3 separate regions of the Homo sapiens genome follow, and regions 2 and 3 are each linked to region 1. The links are contacts of gene promoters, found by promoter capture Hi-C in blood cells and fetal thymus (Javierre and others, 2016). All regions are on one chromosome and are shown on one strand. The core of a region is centred on a gene start or on the middle of the fragment in contact, and the rest is flanking DNA. Distances in the headings are between cores, read along the strand shown. Region 1 holds the start of THOC7-AS1 (THOC7 antisense RNA 1). Region 2 has its middle 17 kb from the start of PRICKLE2-AS1. Region 3 has its middle 11 kb from the start of PSMD6.

Region 1 (3,679 bases), core at 851-3,350:
GGTGACCGGTAACTGTAAATGCCTGTGGAGAGGCCACTTCTTAAGAGTTGAAGACCACCAGGGTCTCCACATTAAAGGGCCTGGCCATGGGAAGAACAGTGATAGGCCCAAATTTCCAGACTGATAAAGAGTAGTGGAGGTGGGAGGCTACTAAAGACCCAGGAACTTCATGTGGAATTTCAGCTTTGCTTCATTCCAGTTTCATTTATTTAGTGGATATTTATCCTTCCTGGACTAGGCTTTGGGATTACAACCCAGAACTAACAAGCAAGAACTTTTCCCTCTCCAAAATTTTGGTCTGAAGGGAAAGAAACATTGACTAATGAGTTTTAAGAGTGACAAATATTACCACAAGGAAGTACAAGGTTGGGAACTGTAGGAACATGTAACAAAGATTATTTATCCAATCAATGGAAATGAGAAAGCCTCCTCGAAGTTAATCCCATTTTTGAAGAATAAATAGATATTGGACTGGTGTTCTGGGTTGGTAGCCACTTGTATAAAGACCCCAAGATGTTGGAAGAACTCAAAGCTGACAAGTATTGCTAGAATTTAGAAAGTTATGAGCCAGAGATCTCTAAGGGCAATAGGAATCCATTAAAAGTTTTAACACTGGTGTGGTGTTAATCAGATTGGCATTAAAACACACACACATGCCGGGCACAGTGGCTCACGCCTGTAATCCCAACACTTTGGGAGGCCAAGGCAGGCGGACCTCTTGAGCTCAGAAGTTCAAGACCAGCCTGGAAAACATAGTGAGACCCCATGTCTACAAATACAAAAAAATTGGTCTGGCACAGTGGCACACACCTGTAGTCCCAGGACTTGGGAGTCTGAGGAGAAAGGATCACTTGAGCCTGGGAGGTTGAGGCTGCAGTGAGCCAAGATCGCGCCAGTGCACTCCAGTCTGGGTGACAGAGTGAGACCGTGTCTCATTAAAAAAAAAAAAAACACACACACACATACACACTGTCTCTGTTATGTGCAGAATGATTAGAGGAAGAGAAAATGAGGAGCTAAGTTTCCTCGCCACTTACTAACGTTTACGTAGTGCTGTTAGGTATTATTCTAATTGTTATCCCCATTTTACAGATGAAACAGACACAGGTTAGCTTGCCTAAGGTCGCACAGATAGTAGTTATAGAGGGTCAAAGGCAGGGAGACCACCTGCCGAGTTCCTGCTCTTCACTATTATGCGTCCTGTGTCTGCTACTTCTGCAGTGGCCCTGGTGAGAGACAATGAGGACTGTGACCAAGAGGGAATGCAAAGAGGACAGGTGGGAGGGAAATAGGGAAATTTGTGAGGTAGAATGTCAGGACTTCAGGTATTGAATGGATGGTGGGAGAAGGGATTTAGGATGATCCCAGGTTTTTGACTTCACTGTGTGCCTGTTAGTGCTACTTTTCTATTTATTGAGATTGAGATGTCCAAAGGAGCAACAGGCTTTGTCAGATGGGAGATAGGGACAGAAGATGAGTTCTAAAGTAATGACTGCAGTCAAGTGCCCCCCCACATCCTTAAAAGCCACAGGAATCTCTACCCTGCCACTTACAGACTGTCTCAGCTTCAGTCTCTGAACGGAGATAATAATAAAATCCACATCAGCGGATTGTTTTGAGGATTAAACACAAAAAGTTGTAAAGGGCTTTGCATTGAGTCCAACACATAATAATTAATATTCAGTAAATATTAATGTCAGAGTTGTTTTACTAATCTGTCTTCCACTTTCCTTTGATGTGGACTTTGCCTTCTCTCTTAATCTGCACAGGTTGCCTTTTCCTGCCTTTTCTATCAGGTGACACTCCACTTATTCCTCAAGACCCACCTCAAAAATCCCCTCTTTTCTTTCCTAGAAGTAGTTGACCTTCTGCCTACTAGCCATATTATTTTATGCATATTGCTGCTGTCACCCTTAATACGTTATTTATATGCCTTATGCTAGAAAACATTTAAGGCAGTTCACTGTAATGAGAAAATATAAAAATTAAACGGATTAGAAAACAAGACAAAAAGAACATTGAGATTAGGAAAAATAAAGGGAAGTCAGAAGTGGGGTGATCCTCAAAATGCAGGAGGATAAAGTCTAGTACATTAATTAACCAAGCTGTAAGTGACCTGTTTCTCCAGTAGGCCATTCTGAGAGGCAGGACCTCGTCTGCTCTGTGATCTAGTGTTCATGAGAGAAGGCAATCTTAGATGCCCAGGAAAAGCACTTTTTTTTTCTGATTTGAACTAGAGGAAAAGTTTATCATTGAGGTCTTTATAAATGAAAGCCAGTGTCATATCCTTAACCTCTTTTCAGCACTGAAGATCATAGAGCTGTTTTGTAGCACATCCCTTGCTAGGTAAAAGAAGGCTAAATCACAATTTAGAAAGACATTCTAAAGCCAGTAGAGGCTGGGTGTGGTAGCTCACACCTGTAATCAATCTTAGCACTTTGGGATGCTAAGGCAGGAGGATCACGTGAGCCCAGGAGTTTGCGACCATCCTAAGCAACACAGCAAGACATGATCTATACTACAGAATTTTTCAAATTAGCCAGGCGTGTGTGGTGGTGTGCACCTGTAGTCTCAGCTACTCATCTCTACTAAAAATTTTCTTAAATTAGCCAGGTGGAGTGGAACACACCTGTAGGTAGTCCCAGCTACTCAGGAGGCTGAGGCAGGAGGATCACTTGAGCCCAGGAGTTTGAGGTTGCAACGAGCCATGATTGCACCACTGCACTCCAGCCTGTCAACAGTGCTAGACCCTGTCTAAAAATAAATAAATAAAATCAATGGACAATGTGGTTTAGGTGGGTAGTGGGTAGCTCTGCTGATCTGGCTTGATTCAAATCAGGGTTTTTTGATTGAATATCTAGACCATAGAGGAAAGACAAACTACAACTTCTTCAGACAATCCTCTATAAACATGGTTTTTGTCAGCTGAGCTTTTGAAAAAATCAAGCTGAAATGAGTGGTATGTGTGATCCGTCAACAAGTATTTATTGCATACCTTCTAGGCACAATGCGAGGTCCTGGCTACTTTGCAGTGAACTAGACAGAGGAGGGCCCTGGCCCCTGCTTTGGGGAAAGAAGCCATAGTGTGCAATCAAATAAGTAAATAAGATAATTTCTGAAAAGGAATGTAATTAAGTTCTGAGAATGAACTTGATGGAATGAGGACAGAGAGTAATGGGGGAGGGCAGTGATACCTGACAGGTTCAACCACATGAAGAGCCCAGGAAAGTATTCCAGATAGAGACAACAACTAGTGCAAAGGCCCGAGGTGAAAACAAGCTCTGCACCCTTTAGAGGAAATAAGGAAAGCCACTGGGCTGGATCTAGGGACAGGACTGCATCCAGGTGGGCCAAGAGGAGTACGATGCAAAAGGAGGTAAAAGGGAGCTCAGGAGGAGCCTTGCAGGCTTTGGAAAGGAGACTGAATTGTCCTTTGTGGGCATTTAGAAATGATAGGAGGATTGTAAGCAGGAGAGTTAGTGATCCAATTCATCTTTTAGATCATTCTGAGTTGCATAAAAAATGGATTCTAGGAAGGCAAGAATGGAAACAGGGAGTCCAATGCAAAATATTCCAGATGAGAGAAATGTGGGCTTGGATTAGAGCGATGTTAGTGTGGAAGATAGAAGTGGATGCTCTTGATATCTCATTCATCCTCCTGGAAAGCTCTTGGAGGAGT
Region 2 (3,679 bases), core at 348-2,847, 190 kb before region 1:
TTTCCAATTGTACTTAAGTATTATATCTCTGGCAACAGTTGTCCTAAGAGAGAGCTCTTTTCTTCTGTGTAATATTCAAGCAATCTTCAAAGGCTTTTATCTGCTAAAACTGATATGAAAATGGCATTTTATTTACCAATTCATCTCTAAGTATCAAATCATTACTTTTCTGTTTTATGTACATATCATCTATAAATGTTCTGAACATTTAAACAGTCAATAATTTTTCTATTCTGTGTTTCAGTTGAAATAGAACTTTACATCATAAAGAATTTACCAGTTTTAGAATGTTTTATAGTAAAGATACGTGCATTCACACAAACATATATGCATATATACCTATATGAATGTGTATATATGTGCACATATATGTGTGTAAGGCTACATATTATATGGTATAGAGATTGGGAGTTTGGGTTCTGGAGTCAAATTATTATGATGTGAATTCTCCCTTCTGTAAGACCTTTTGAAAGCTACTTAACCTCTCTTTCAGCTTCATCTATAAAATGGGAGCAATAATAGTAACCACTTCATAGAGTTGTGATGACTAAATGAATTAATACATATTAGGTGCTTCAAACAGAGCTTGGCAGGTAGCAAGTGGTCAGCTTAGCAAATATTAGCTATTTTATTAGAAACAGTCCAAGTAACCCATATTTTAAAAAACTGAGTTACCTGTGAACAAGAAACTTCTAAGTTATTGGTGTGTTTTATATGTGTTTTACACAGTTAGCAATGGTAATAGCATTATTGCTCCTGTTTGCTCTTCTTGAAGACAGTGAATTCTTGGTGGCACCCTGCTGTCACACTCTCAGCTTTTCTAACTCTCTGGGCAAGTTCCAGGTCCAAGGCTTTCTCCAGCAGAGTTAGTCATGCAGGTGGACTGTCCATCCTATGAAGGCCTCAACTTGTTGGAGAGCAAATTAAATCGATGCAGAGAAAGCTGTTGCAGGTGTGTTCTTTCTTGATATGGTTGGTGGTGGCGGTGTTTCACTCAATTTTGAGAATTTTTCTTCTTACTGTTGTTAGTATTGCTGGAGTGAAAGAATGTGCACCTTCTAGGATGAGTACACATATTCAAGCAGGAGGAAATAATAAGGGTGGCTCCTCCACATTGAGCTCTCCGTCTGGCCGGGGACTGCCTTCTGCTCTGTAGACCATCCCCACACCCACCCTCACCAGTGAGGACAGGCCCAGACTAGGCCTGACTTCAGTAGCCTGAAGTCCAGTTCACATGTCTACATTTGCGCATTCAGACGGCACCAAGAAAAGAACCACCTTTGGGATGCTCTTAAGCTCATTTTTAATAGACTTTATTTTTAGAATAGTTGTAGATTCACAGAAAAGTCAAACAGATAGTACAGAGGGTTCTAATATACCCAATGCCAAGTTTCCCTGATATTAATATCCTACATTAGTATGGTACATATGTTACCATCAATGAACCAATATTGATAAATTGTTGTTCACTAGAGTCCGTACTTTATTCTGATTACCTTAGTTTTTACCTGCTGTCCCTTTTCTGTTCCAGGATTCTATCCAGGCTACCAGGTTACAGTTAGTCATGTCTCCTTTGCTCCTTTTGGCTGGGATAGTTTCTCAGACTTTCCTTGTTTCTAATGACTTGGACAGTTTAGAAGAGTATTGGTTAGATGTTTTGTAGGATGCCCTACTATTAAAATGCTGTCTGGTGTTTTGTCATGATAAGACTGGTGTTTTGGGTTACTGGGGGGCGGGGCAGGGGGGAAGGCCACAGAGGTAAACTGTCATTTTCATCACATCTTATCAGGAGTATGTAACATCAACATGATTTATAGCTGTTGATGTAGACCTTGATCACCTGGATGAGGTGGTGTTGTCATGTTGCTCCACCGTAAAGTTACTTTCATTTTTTGTTCCTCCTTTTATGCCGTACTCCTTGGAAGGAAGTCACTATGCATAGCCCACATTTAAGGAGTAGGAATGTATGCTCCCCCTCCTTGAAGACGGAGTATCTACATAAATTATTTGGAATTTTGGAATTGCCACGGGAGATTCATGTAGTCATTTTTCAAGTGAGACTATATAAAAGGAAATTGACCAAAGAGAAAATTATGGTCAACAGATGTGTAGGGATGAAGAGAAAATCTTGAAAACAACAAAGGAGACAGTCTGAGAAGTAACATTTCTCATCTATTTTTGAGAATTACCTGTATAGTCAGACAAGTACTCAGAACTAATGTCCAAAAATATTTAGTGCTACATTACATTATGTAAAATACTTAAAAAAAGAAAGAAAGTAAAATATTCAAACAAGTCATGGGACATTCATGTAACTGTTAGGTCAAAAATGTATATATACATCATTTTCATCTGTGTGTGTGTGTGTGGGTGTGTATGTATGTATGGATGTATGTATAATTATTTTTAAGAGATGGGGTCTTGCTATGTTGCCCAGGCTGGACTCAAACTCCTGAGCTTAAGCAATCCTCCAGCCTCAGCCTCCCAAGAAACTGAGACTACAGAGACTACAGGCTCATGCTACTGAGCCCAGCTCTCTCTATATACAATTACTGGCATGGAAATACAGTAACGGTATGCTATGAATGAATTAAAGCAGGTTATATAGCCATATGCCTGGTTATGATTGTTTCATTATAAAACAAGTGTATTATATAAACACACACATGTGTGTGTATATACAACATTTATAATGTCTGACAGGTTAGTTAATACCAAAAAAAATACTTTTATTATGACCAGCTGGTAGGATTACATGTAATTTAGCATATTCCTTTTTAATATCTAAAATTTCTGTTTTCTTTAATAACTTTCTACTTATCTAATGAAACAAAAATTAAAAGAAAATAACCTAAAGCAAAAGATATACTGACAAATATAACACTAGCATGTTGTGTTAGTAATCCAGGTTGTTAGAAATCCACTATATGCCAGCTTTTTAAATGCCTCTAGTAGGACTTGAAATAGGGAAGAAAGGCAAGAACTTTAGTGGTTGTTTTTAATACTGTTTCCTATAACACCAGTAATCCTAATTACAGGTACTTGTTTATCCATGATGGAACTGGACTCCAAGAACCCTCTGAACCCAAAGGATATGTTGTTCCAGTCTCATCCCTATCTTCTCTGTTGCCTGCAGTGGGCCTCAGCTCAGCCCTTCCCAATCTCAGTGAGCCCCGACCATCCTCTTTTCTGGCATTCCACCTCCCGGGCTGCTCCCTCCCTCTTGTCCTAATCTCTTGAGTTTGCTCACCTCCTCCCCTCTACTTACAAGTCTTCCACAAAGCTCAGCCGATGCACTAGCTCCCTGAGCATCACAATGGGAGAGCCTTTGTCATCGGCATCAACCTTTTTAATGTCAACCTAATCCTTCACTCAAATAAAAAAAGGATCAATAGAGCCAAACTGTAAACATGCCAGTCTTCCTATGTTGCCTTTTTTCTCTCCTTTTCATCTCCTAGAAATGCCCTCCCCTCAGCTGTCCATTTTCTAGCCCTCTCTTTCCTTTAAAGTACAAGTTAATCACCCCCACCCTCAAATTTTCCAGCTCCCCTAAAGCTTATGATTTTTTTCTCTCTTATTTTTGCAAGCATCTGTTGTCTCTATAACTGGTTCTCGGTGGAAGCTATGCTGGTCTGTTATATTTTCATCGTATCCGCCAAGAGTAGGACTCATTTTCTCA
Region 3 (3,679 bases), core at 523-3,022, 170 kb before region 1:
CAACACACCCTGATACCTTTTGGAGCAATGACTTTCCTCCCTAAAGTGCCTGCTTCTGGAGGATTGTCACTCAGGGGGCTTGCGTCGCCAAGCACAAGCATGGGACCCAACTGGACCAATTGGCTTCTCTCTCCCCACTCTGAATCTTGAAGTGGGTGGTAGAAGGAAGAACAAATGCTAAAATTAATTCATCTCAGCTTTGGCTCCCTAAAGTAAGTGGCCAAATTGCTGGAGTTCCTTGGAGATATCATAATAAAACTGGTTCCCCAGGCTTGACTTGCATCCTGTAGGCATCCATATCTCCCTTGAATAAATTTCCTTTTGTCTATAGTTGCCAGAGTCTATTTCTGTGGCTTTCAACCACAAAAGAGCCCTAGTTAATATAATGCCTGTGGAATCAGACTCTGAAAACTAAGATGGAAGTAGTAAATGTGGTACATTGGTTCCCATTCTTTTGGAAAGGTGTGTGTGCTTGTTGTGTGTTGAGATTTTGAGCCACCCATTTTGATATCCATTTGTTTCAGTACCATTTATTGAAAAGTGACTCATCCTTCACGCGTTGCCTTTGCAACCTTGTCAAAAATCAGTTGTCTATATCTGTTTCATTTCTTTCTGGACTCTCTAGCCTGTTTTATTGAACACTTTGTCTTTACACCAATATTATGCTGTTTTGATTACTATAGTTTTATAATGATATTGTCATATTTGGGTGTGTGTGTGTGGATATGTGGGTGTGGGGGAGAAGAAAGTTGCAGTCATCAGGACATTTCTTCCTTAAATACTTAATATGCAAGTTTTAAAAATAAGGGCTTTGTCATACTTGTCACAGCAAAGAAAATTAGTAATCCCCAAATATCATTTAATATACAGTCCATATTCAAATATCTCTAATGTCTCCAAAACATCTATGGCTGTTTTTCTTAAAAATGTATGATAGATCTTTTATTAGTATCTCTAGCTTTGTCTTTGATGATTTAGAATTTTAAACTTTTTTCCTTGGGTCAATGTTCATAATTTATAATATTACTAGGAATTCATCCTTCCAAGTTTTGAAAACTATTATATAGAGTTGCTTATTATATTCTCTTAAACGATTTTAATCACTCCTATATCTATGGTTATTTCTCCTTTCACGTTTCTAATGTAACCTATTTTTGTTCACACTCATCGTCTTTATCTCTCTTGCTCACTCTTTCCTTAATCAGGATTTGAAGGGGCTTATCTGTAGATGTCACTGGTCTTTGCCAAGAAGCAGTATTTGAATTTATTTTTCCTCTCTGTAGATATGCTATTTTATTACCTTTGTATTTTATTTTTTTTTCATCCGTCTTCTTAGTGTCTTTGAGTTTACTATGTTGTTCTTTTTAGAAAACTATAGAAGTAAGTCTTTAGCACCTTTTTGGTGGTTCACTGGCAGTGAAGGCATTCAAGGCTATAAACTCTTCTCCAGGCTGGGTGTCATTGTGTCTGATGGACTTTGTATTTTGTGCACACCTTTTCACTGCTTTCTAGAAAGCTGGTGATTTTTCTTTTGATTTTCTCTTTAATCCAAAGATTATCAACAGCTGCCTTTTAGTTTCCAAATGGGTAAAATGTTTGGCCATTTTAAAATTGCTTATGTCTTATTTTGTTAGATTGTGTATTGGAAAATCATGTCTTATAACATCTCAATGCTTTTGAATTTTTAAGGTTTTAATTGTGGATTTATGTCACTTCTTATGATCACTTTTTATAGATATTCCTGGACATTTGAAATAATGGAGAAATATACTCCTATTCAATGGATGTAACATTCTATAGTACAAGTTACATTTAGTTTACTGATTGTATTTTTAAATCCTCTATGTTCTTGCCTACTTTTTTTTCTGCTGCATATGCTAAGGGAACTATATAGCAGCCCCTGATTACAATAGTAATTTTATCAAGTTATCCTTGGATTTGTAATAGTTTTGCTTGGGGCATTGGGCTTCTACAGTTTGGTGTGCAAATGTTTTGTCAGTTGCATTGTTTTAATAAATGTCAGTATTGTGGTTCCAAAATGGCCCTGTACATCCTGTTGAGTGATTTTACCTCTTCTGTTTATCTTCTTCCATCTTCAGATGCCTCTTCTGGTTCACCTGTGGTTGGTTTTCAGTCTTAATTATTTCCTCGGAAAGGGGTTTTGTGGTGCTATAGTTTCTATTTGCTTATCTTCAAATGTCTTTCAGCCTGATAGATGGAAGATATCTTAGCTGGGTATGGGATTCCTAGGTTGCTGATCCTTCTCTCTTTGATGTGACTCCATTGTGTTTAGCTGTCAGTGTTGCAACTGAGAAGTCTTAGGCCACTCTGATGAGTTTTTTGCTGTATGTATATGTCTTTTGTGGATGAGAGGAGTGGTTTGAAGGATGGGAAAACAATGTCAACCAGGTGTCACCACGCACAATTCCAGGAGGCACCATTCACATCAACTTTCATCATAAGAGTCATGGATGACTGCAGGTCAAATTCTTTCCAGCATCTGCCACTGTCTTGTCCTCATCCTAGGCTATCTGAAGCCTCATCTCCAGGTACTTCCCCAGCCTATAGGGAAAAAATACTTCCACCAGTTTTCTCCACCTGGGCTTCCAGAGAGCTAAAGGTCTCCTCTAAACCTCACTTCCCTTAGGCCTCAGTAGGAAGACTTCAGGAGATGCAGAGGCAGAACTGAGCATGGAGATAAAGAGGGTTGCTTTTGGGTAGCCATGGGCCCAGAATGTCCCTCATCCCTTAGAGCGTAATTCGTTAAGCAAGGCTTGCTTATAATTTTTCCTCTACAGATGTGAGCTCTTCAAATTGAGAGATCTCTCAGTGACAACAAAGTGGCTGTACAAAAACTATAACATCATTTTAAACAGATTAGGCACTAAATTAGTCTGGGCGCCATAGCTCACACCTGTAACCCCAGCATTTTGGGAGGCTGAGGTGGGTGGATCACTTGAGGTCAGGCGTTCTAGACCAACAAGGTGAAACTCTGTCTCTACTAAAAATGCAAAAATTAGCCAGGCATGGTGGCGGGCGCCTGTAATCCCTGCTACTCAGGAGGCTGAGGCAGGAGAATCGCTTGAACCCAGGAGGCAGAGATTGCAGTGAGCCAAGATTGCACCACAGCACTCCAGCCTGGGCCACAGAGCAAGACTCTGTCTCTAAATAAATAAATAAAAATAACGGGTTAGGCGTTAAATTATTTCTTCCTAAAATAAAGCTGAATGTGTTGGAATCATTGTTCTCTATTAATAAAAAAAGAGGAATATTAAAAATTTCAAGCAAAAATTTGGCTTGTTCATGGTCTAGGAAACCTACTAGGCAGCCTGCTTTTGAAAAGGAGAAGATAAGGCTCCACAACACATGGCGTGACAACCATTTATGACCTCTCCAGAGACAATATTCCACATGAGACCATCCGATTAGAAAGCAGAGTCCATGAAATAGACTTGTCTTGCTATTTCTGTGTGCTTTTAGGAAGCCTATGCTCACTGAGAAGAAAGAAAAGAATGTTCCTATAAACTTGTGATGGAAAAGCAATAAAAGCCACCAGAGACATTCTGAAATTTTTATTCTAATATTTCACTGACCAGAAGGAAGAAGCAGGAAGCCTTGCAAGGTTCAAGAAATAGTTGTCAGCAATAAGGAGAGACCACATTTTTCTGCCTCGTATAAA

Evidence for each region. Contacts are between HindIII fragments. The CHiCAGO score rates a contact against its expected background, and 5 or more counts as called.
Region 2: a contact is called between a fragment that was not itself captured here and the fragment with the promoter of THOC7-AS1 in region 1, in 1 of 17 cell types (neutrophils). The highest score is 5.0, in neutrophils.
Region 3: a fragment that was not itself captured here is called in contact with the fragment with the promoter of THOC7-AS1 in region 1 in 11 of 17 cell types (total B cells, monocytes, activated CD4 T cells and 8 more); the score reaches 9.0 in total B cells.

The regions. Positions count from the first base shown.
Region 1 is chr3:63,859,066-63,862,744 of GRCh38, reverse strand. THOC7-AS1 (THOC7 antisense RNA 1) reads right to left here and starts at 2,100. Exons shown (of 2, transcript NR_104326.1): 1 at 1,749-2,100; 2 at 926-1,246. The region is part of intron 1 of THOC7 (THO complex subunit 7); the gene reads left to right. The HindIII fragment of the contact is 14,056 bases long and covers 1-3,679 here.
Region 2 is chr3:64,049,574-64,053,252 of GRCh38, reverse strand. No RefSeq gene overlaps it. Among named protein-coding and RNA genes, the nearest start is that of PRICKLE2-AS1, 17 kb to the left of the region's middle. The HindIII fragment of the contact is 3,920 bases long and covers 1-3,557 here.
Region 3 is chr3:64,033,049-64,036,727 of GRCh38, reverse strand. No RefSeq gene overlaps it. Among named protein-coding and RNA genes, the nearest start is that of PSMD6, 11 kb to the right of the region's middle. The HindIII fragment of the contact is 3,820 bases long and covers 1-3,679 here.